2 separate regions of the Homo sapiens genome follow, and region 1 is linked to region 2. Evidence: promoter capture Hi-C in 16 types of primary human blood cells and fetal thymus (Javierre and others, 2016). All regions are on one chromosome and are shown on one strand. The core of a region is centred on a gene start or on the middle of the fragment in contact, and the rest is flanking DNA. Distances in the headings are between cores, read along the strand shown. Region 1 overlaps AMD1 (adenosylmethionine decarboxylase 1). Region 2 holds the start of SLC22A16 (solute carrier family 22 member 16).

Evidence for each region. Contacts are between HindIII fragments. The CHiCAGO score rates a contact against its expected background, and 5 or more counts as called.
Region 1: a contact is called between a fragment that was not itself captured here and the fragment with the promoter of SLC22A16 in region 2, in 1 of 17 cell types (M2 macrophages). The highest score is 5.0, in M2 macrophages.

The regions. Positions count from the first base shown.
Region 1 is chr6:110,876,271-110,880,408 of GRCh38, forward strand. All of the region lies in intron 1 of AMD1 (adenosylmethionine decarboxylase 1), which reads left to right. Among named protein-coding and RNA genes, the nearest start is that of AMD1, 3.6 kb to the left of the region's middle. RefSeq lists an enhancer at 1-367. The HindIII fragment of the contact is 1,622 bases long and covers 444-2,065 here.
Region 2 is chr6:110,474,808-110,478,845 of GRCh38, forward strand. SLC22A16 (solute carrier family 22 member 16) reads right to left here and starts at 1,806. Exons shown (of 8, transcript NM_033125.4): 1 at 1,715-1,806. The coding sequence starts at 1,767. LOC105377938 (a long non-coding RNA gene) reads left to right here and starts at 710. Exons shown (of 2, transcript XR_942860.3): 1 at 710-855. The HindIII fragment of the contact is 6,876 bases long and covers 1-4,038 here.

The DNA of each region.
Region 1 (4,138 bases), core at 5-2,504, 400 kb after region 2:
CCTAGGCCCTGCCACCGGATCCCTGGCTCCTCTGCGCACGAGTGCGGCTAGGGTGGCGGTGCAGCGGAGTAACTGGCGTGGCCAGCTTCATTGAGAGGCGGCGACCAATGGGCTCCTGGGCCGCACTCAGAGCCTGGCCCCAGGGTGTGGACCAATGGGCGTTTTAGGAGTGTTAGCTGTTCTTGGAGCTGTCCCTTGACAAAAAGCAACTGGAAAAGGGAATCCAGGCAGACACGTGCTACCGAGACTTTAAGGCACGACGGGAAACCCGGTTTCTAGCAGTGTATCTTGAACGATTCCATTGTAGAAAAAAATACTAGTCATAGCTAAAATGTCACACGTCTCATTTTTTTCAAGCTTCGTGTGACACTTAAAATGTCTATAGCGCTTACTACGTGCCAGGCTCACGTGAGATTATAGGAAGCGGACTTTGGTCATGGAGAAGCTTAGTATTTCCTTCATTTCACAGATGAGAAAGATGGTATTTGTGATAGACGTTTGGTAAAACGATTGTGATCAGGATAATTAACCTAGAAAATCTTGGCAAGAACCTAGAAAATCTTGGGTAAGAACAGTCCTAGAAAACGAATAACAGAAGTTGTCACTTTGGCTTTTTAAATGTTTGAGCCCTTAAATAATAGTAAGTACATGTTCTTAATAAAGGGAAGAAGATTTTGTTCTCCCCAAGTTCTTGGCGGTTTGGCTGTTTAGAGCTTCCTGAGTCAAAGTGGAGAGAGGAGGAAGAGGCTTTTTACAAAGCAGCCTGCTTTCTTTAAATGTTTAAGAACCCTTTTTACTTTGTACTTTAATCAGCCCAAATTGTTTTACTGCTCCAGTGTGGCTTTTAAAATCATGGCCAAAGTTAAACTTTGAAGGACAAAATATTCCCTTGTGTAGATGATTTAGTGCCATCCATTTTGTGGACATGTAACATTCATTGAACAACTATTGGTAGTACACTGCCACATTGTAACTGTTGTAGATAAAGCAAGTTAAGCAAGAACTGAAAAATATGTTGATTTAACTAAGGTCCCGTGATAACCTTCGTTGGAACATTTTTCAGTGACCACTCAAGTGGTTAGGTTATTTACCAGGATGTTTAAAAAAGCCTGAAATAGTAGGTGTTCCTTGAATCACCTAAAATCAACAGCCTAGCAAAGAGAGTATCATGGACGGAGTCCGGTCGGTGGGGACATGGGGCCAGCCCCAGAGACCCCAGGGAAGGATAATCGGTCATCTAGAAGAATAAAGCGTGACATGTTTTACTCAAATGACGTGATTAAGTGCATAGCCTCTGGAATAACAAGATTTGAATTCAAACAGCATTTAATAGCTGTGTGAGCTGTTTCCTCATCTGTAAAATGGAGACAATAATGGTACATAGCTCATGGAAGTTGTGAAGAATAAATAAGTTAATATGTTATATGTAGTACGTAAACTGTTATCTTTAACACTTTAAAGACAGGATCCCTCTATAGCCCAGGCTGGAGTGCAGTGGCAGGATCATGGCTCACTGCAGCCTTGACCTCCTGGGCTCTATTAAGATGTGAATAAACTAAAAGTAGGTTAAAAGATGAACAGATGGAATTAAACAAATCTGTTTATAAAGCATAATAAACATAGGGACATAAAAACGATTAAGAGAATGAAAGGCTTAAATGTCCAAAGAGAGCATTAGTATTGATGCTAAAGACAAGGATAACAAGATAAGGATATGAGGGAGAAAAAAATCCTGGAAAAATAGCTTTCCAAAACTAATGCAAGAAGAAATGGAGAACCCAAAACAGTCCTAGAACACCTAAATAACTTGAATCAGTCAATCATCTAGGCCCAGATGATTTCACTGGAGTGTTCTGTATAATTCAAGGGAGAAAATATCCAACTTTTTTCACGCATTCTTCTGGGAAACAACATACTTCCCTCGGTTTTCTCATCCCAAAGTCTGAAATATTTTTTTCTCCTACACGATATTTACCTTTCATATTTAGATCTGCAATCCATCTGGAATTGATTTTGTGTGTGGTGTGAGGGAATACACTTTAAACAAACTTGGCTCATCAGTCCAAGCTTTAATGCTTGGAATCTTTTCTGAATGTACACCTTTTTACTAAACACTGCTTCCCTCTTGTAGACCATTTAAGATATTTTATCTTAAGTGAACAAATTATGTAATACTGAGAAATTTAACAAAGAAAAATCTTTTATGATATAGCTTGGGTTAAACAATACTGTTGGAGAAAAGCAGCAGTCCAGGTATATCCAGATGAATAAAGGACAATTAAGGGAGAGGCGGTTTCTTAGGGGTAACCTGCAGTTTTCTCTGATTTTTCAGATTTTACGGATGTTGAATAAAAATCAGTGACCATTTAAAAAATGGTTTAGTTGTTGGATCAAAGTGCTGTAACAAACAAAAGCTTTTTATAAGACATGGCAGCTTTAGGGAGGGTGAGAGTAGTAAGAAGGAAATCTGTTAGAAAATAGAAAATTTTGCTGAGAAAAGAATGATTTTTCAGGACTGGAAATCCTATTACTGTGCTTTACTCAGATTTTATAAACTAAAACATAATTTTTAGTAAAGGATTGGGGCAGTTGTAAAGATAGTCATACCTCAGCTTAACTTTCCCCAAACTCATGACTTATTTGACTACATCATTATGCAGCATTATTGCAATATCAATAATTTACATTGAAGGAATTTACAACCCGTTGCCAAAAAACCTTTTAGTGTAATGTTTCAGAGTAGAAATGCTTCCTGCTAAAGAATAAAGCTTCTCGTTACATTCCTCCCAGCAGTTTCAAAAAGGTTTCATGGCTGGGCTTGGTGGCTCATGTCTAATCCCAGCACTCTGAGAGACCAAGGAGTTTGAGAGCCCAGTCTGGGCAACATAGTGAAATCCTGACTCTACAAAAAAAATTGAAAAATTATCTGTGCGTGCTGGTCCATCCTGGTGCGTGTCTGCATCCCAGCCACTCGGGAAGCTGAGGTGGGAGGATTTTTTTGAGCCATTGGGGGATCGAGGCTGCAGCGAAATGAGATTGCACCAGTGCGCTCCATCTGGTGGCAGAGTGAAACCCTCTCAACAACAACGAAAATATTTCAACTGTTGTTTACAAACCATGTATCTTTAAGAAGCACATGTTGAAAGTAGCAGAAAACTGAGAGGAGTATCCCGATTTGGGGTAAAAATTTGAGATAGAGAAACAATAATGTGATGATAATAGGTTCATATCTTTGAACAAAAGGGAGGAGGCTTATTTCTCAGGTTATCTGAATTCACTGCCGCAGGAAGGCACCCTCAGAATCTAACTTCTGGTCAGTCTAGCTTTACTCAAGAATGATCTGGTTTTAGGATGCCTTTTACCTAAAGACTGCTTACTACCTGGGGTAGAGGCACCCTGATGAATGTACTGTAATGAGAGCCTCTAAAACAGACCTAAAAATATGAGGTAAGAGCAGAATTGAGAAGCTGCAGTGACTTTGGATAAATTACCTGAACTCTGAAACCAGCTGGTTTTACATTAGGAAGTAATGAGTAATCTAATGACCTGGAAGCTTTTCAAATAAAAATTTGCAGGCATCATCCTCAGAAAGTGTCTGACCTAACTGGGTATGGGAATAGCATCTATGTATTGAGTTTTCAGGTGATTAGAGCATAACCCTGCACTAATGGGATCCTTCTGTATTTAAGTTCTTGGTCTTTTTTTTTTTTGGACAGTCTCAGTCACCCAGGTTCGAGTGCAGTGGTGCCATCTCAGCTCACTGCAACCTCCGCCTCCCAGGTTCAAATGATTCTCCTGCCTCAGCCTCCCTAATAGTGGGTACTACAGGTATGCACCACGATGCCTGGCTAATTTTTGTATTTTTAGTAAAAGACAGGGTTTCGCCATGTTGGCTAGGCTGGTCTTGAACTCCTGACTTCAAGTGATTGAGCCATCGCCCCTGGTCCCTTTGTCCATTTTTTAATCACTTTTTGTTGAGTTGTGTGTAGGTGTGTCTTTTGCTTTGGATATTGACCCCTTATGAGGTGACTTGCAAGTATTTTATTCTGTAGGTTGTCTTTTCACTCGTTTCTTTTGATGTATAGAAATGTTTACATTTTAGGTTTTCAAGTTCCATTTGTCTGTTTTTGATTTTATT
Region 2 (4,038 bases), core at 556-3,055:
AGAGGCATAAACTTCCATTTGAGGAATCTGTTTGATTGGGCACTTTAGTCAAACACCAACTAATATAATTACCTCAGCTAATCCCTAAAAAACACAGGGGAACTAAGATGTAAGTACCACCTACCTCATTGAGTTACTGTAAGGATGAGAAACTGCATGCAGAGTCCTCATATACACATTTTCACTACTCCTATTTGAAAACATTTGTACTATTATTAGCCCCATTTTACAGATAAGAAAGTGGTAAATAAAATGCTCAAGACCGTATAGTTAATGTGTGGTAGCGCCAGAGTGGGAACTTAGACATCCAGCCTTAAAACTGATCTTTTAACCTCTGTGCTATTCTGCTTCCAGAAGGATGAAATGAGATCATACATAAAGAGCTTGGCCCAGCTGAGGAGCCGTCACCTAACCGTGCTCAGGAGTGCATCATGGTTGAGAGTGTGGGCTGTGGAGGTGATGGGCATCCAATGGCATCCAATTCTGCCCTGCTAGTATTAGATTTGTGCTTAGGCAGAAACCTTGGTTTTCTCATCTGTGAAAAGAGGGTGATACTACCAACCTTATAAGGCTGTAGTGAAGATTAAAGGAAGTAACATGTACCAACGGCTTATGACCGAGCCAGGCACAAGGCAGCGTTCAATGATGCAAGCAGAGGAAGAAGGGAACAGCTGGGGCTTCCTGCCCGTTTCCTCTGTCCTAACAGCTCCTTTTTGCAGACACTGGGAATCAAAACCAAAACGCATGCAACCTTCCACCTTGAAGAACAGCACCACATCATCTCTTTGCTAAGCCTGATTCCCGTTTTCTGGATAGGAAACTGACACACAAAGTATCTCCAGAATCATATCAGAGGTAAGTAGCAGGCCAGGATCGAGACGCAGCTCCAAATCTCCGGCCATAACGCTGCATGGCCCCTCACCCGGCTACCTCCCCTCTCAAAACACTCTGAGTCAGATAGAGGAGCTCTGTCCATGAGTGAACGAACGAATGAATAATTTAAATTTTTTAAATCAATTTGACAAATGAAAAGAGGGTGTACGGAGGTTAAACGTGGTTCCACCATGCGTTGGCTATGAGTCCTTGACCCCGCCAGCTTGTTTCCCAATCACTAAAATAAGGATTTGAACACCTCCTTTGCAGGGTCCCGGTGAACATCAAATGAAGAACTATGTGTAAGCGCCAGGTACAGTGTACCTGGCACGTATTAGGTTTTAATAAACGGCAACCAACTCTGACTAACGGTTGTCCCTGGGGAACACCTGCCAGGCACAGAGGGAGGCCCTACGGAGGCGCAGGGCAGAACTGGGCAGCAGCCGTCTAGGGAAGTGGCGGCGGATTAGAGAAACGGGCGGCCAGGCACAGGCACCCCCTACGAGTGAGATCTGGCCCCTCGAGCCAGATCTCCAGCCAGATGCCTCCAGCATCTGCTGCCGCGGAGAGCACGCACCAGGTCCCTCCTGCCCGGCAACAGGCGCACTCCGAGCGAGCCCAGCGCCTCTGCTCACCATGCCAGGTCCCGCTGCCAGAGGCCTAGAGGAGAAGCCCAGCTAGGGGCCGGCGTCTGGACGCCCGTGTCCCGACTGCGCGGGGTGAGGAGGAAGTGGAGATGTTTTCGGATCGCGAGCGCCGCGCGAGAACCCCGCCGCAACGGAAAGAAACAGACCCCTCGGCGCCGCCTCCCGCGTGGCGCCGCGGGGCCCCTCCCCCATACCTGCCGAAGTGCCCCACGTGGTCATAAATCCCCTCGAAGTGGCGGGACCCCATGGTGCGGCCGTGCACTGGGCGCCGAGTTAGCCGAGCTCCGGGGACTGCGGGTAGCGCGCCCCGCCCCGAACCTCCCCGCCCGGCCTCCTGCTCTCCCCGCGCGTCCCAGTGCTCGGGACCAGCGCGAGGCTGTATTCTGTTCCTCCCTCCGTCGCTTGGCCCCTCGGTCCCCCCAAGTATCTTCGGCTTTTTTCCTGCCGCCTCGGCCTCCTTCCCGGCGCGCTGTGGTCCCGGCGCCCGCGGTCGCATGGTGCCCTCGCCCCCAGCGCCGCCGCTCTCCCACCCGCCCCGCCGCCCACCCTGGCTCTTGGCACCATGTCTGCGGGGTCGCCACGCTCGAGGGAAGCCCCGACGCCTGGGAAAAGTTGTCGCTGAGAGAGAGCCCAGGGTGGGAATGCAAGGGCTAGGCTCGGTCCGGGGGCCGCAAGAATATATAGCCTTCAGCATGACGCCCCTCAGAAACATGGCTCTCAAACTTTAATGCCTAAGAATCTACTGCAGAACTTGGTTTAAAAGGTACATTTAAGGCCGGGCGCACTTGCTCACGCCTGTAATCCCAGCACTTTGGGAGGCCGAGGCGGGCGGATCACCTGAGGTCGGGAGTTCAAGACTAGCCTGACCAACATGGAGAAACCCCGTCTCCACTAAAAATACAAAATTAGCCGGGCGTGGTGGCACATGCCTGTAATCCCAGCTACTCGGGAGGCTGAGGCAGAAGAATCGCTTGAACCCTGGAGACGGAGGTTGCGGTGAGCCAAGATCGTGCCATTGCACTCCAGCCTGAGGAACAAGAGTGAAACTCCGTCTCAAAAAAATAAAAGTACAATTAGGCCGGCGTGGTGGCTCAGGCCTATAATCCCAGTGCTTTGGGAGGCCGAGGCAGGAGGATTGCTGGAGCCAAGGAGTTTGAGACCAGCCTGGGCAACGTATAGCGACACCTCGTCTATACAAAAATAAAAAATAAATAAATGTACATTTATTTTGAGACTCCATCCCTGATGATTCAGGATGCCTGGGGAACAGGAATCTGATTTTTTTTTTTTTTTTTTTTTTTTTTTTTTTTTTTTTTTTTGAGACGGAGTCTCGCTCTGTCGCCCAGGCTGGAGTGCAGTGGTGCAATCTCGGCTCACTGCAAGCTCCACCTCCCGGGTTCAAACCATTCTCCTGCCTCAGCCTCCCAAGTAGCGGGGAGGTGCCCGCCACCACGTCCGGCTAATATTTTGTATTTTTAGTAGAGACGGGGTTTCACCGTGTTAGCCAGGATGATTTCGATTTCCTGACGTCGTGATCCGACCGCCTTGGCCTCCCGAAATCTGATTTTTAATAAGCAGACCATGGCATTCCAAGCCACACTTTGGAGTGGGCAGGGGTTTGGCCCATAGCCAACCCAGGCAGGGGGTGACCTTCCTTCTGGAAGGTATCAAGTGAATGAACTTTAGGGAAGAAAGGTCAATTGCTGGTCCACAGCGCTGAAGCAGAAAAGCCAGTTTCCGACTATATCCACAGTGAGAGTTGCCTTCTCTAGTCAGCCTGGCAGTCACTGGCCCCACTGTTGGCGTGCTATTCCACTCTATAAGGCCACTAAACCTTGAGTTCCTAGAGAACAGGGATGCATTCTCTTCGTCACTTTGGTAGCCTCAGTTCCATAGCAAATGCCCTCTCTCTGAACTTCTCCACCTCATCCTTAAAATCTGAGCACACCTATCGCTTTCTCAGAGAAGTCCAACAGTTTGAGGGCCAGGGCAGAGCTCTACCAGAGCAGAGCATCAAGAGTGGGTCTGATGGCTCCGAGAAGCGGCAGGATCTTGCAAGGCTGTGTTGAACATTTTACTTTGACCAAAGGACAAGGAGAACTCCCTGTAGACAGTCTTAAAGCAGAAGAGTAACAGGCGCAAACTTGTACTTGAATAATATTTGAAAGAGAGGAGAGTCCATTTCCCAAAGTGCTTCCCTCCCCTACTTGTCACAGAGCCTACAATAACACCATTAAAAATTGACTTATTTTTGTTATGCACAATCCTATCTAGACATTCTCTTCTGAAACATAAATACTCTTGGAAGGACTAATCCCTTAAGTAATAAACAACTTGGAGAGGGTTTTTAAATTAGATAGTTTCCTGCTAACTAAAGAGACTTAAGAAAGCCTAAGTTCTTCAGGTGAGGAATGCTAGAGGGATACAAGGTGGGGGGAAGATGAGAGGGTAGTGAGGAGTAGTTATGTCAAGGGCTGAGCCTAGGAGGAAAGGTGGGGGCCATGGCAGCCAGTCAAGA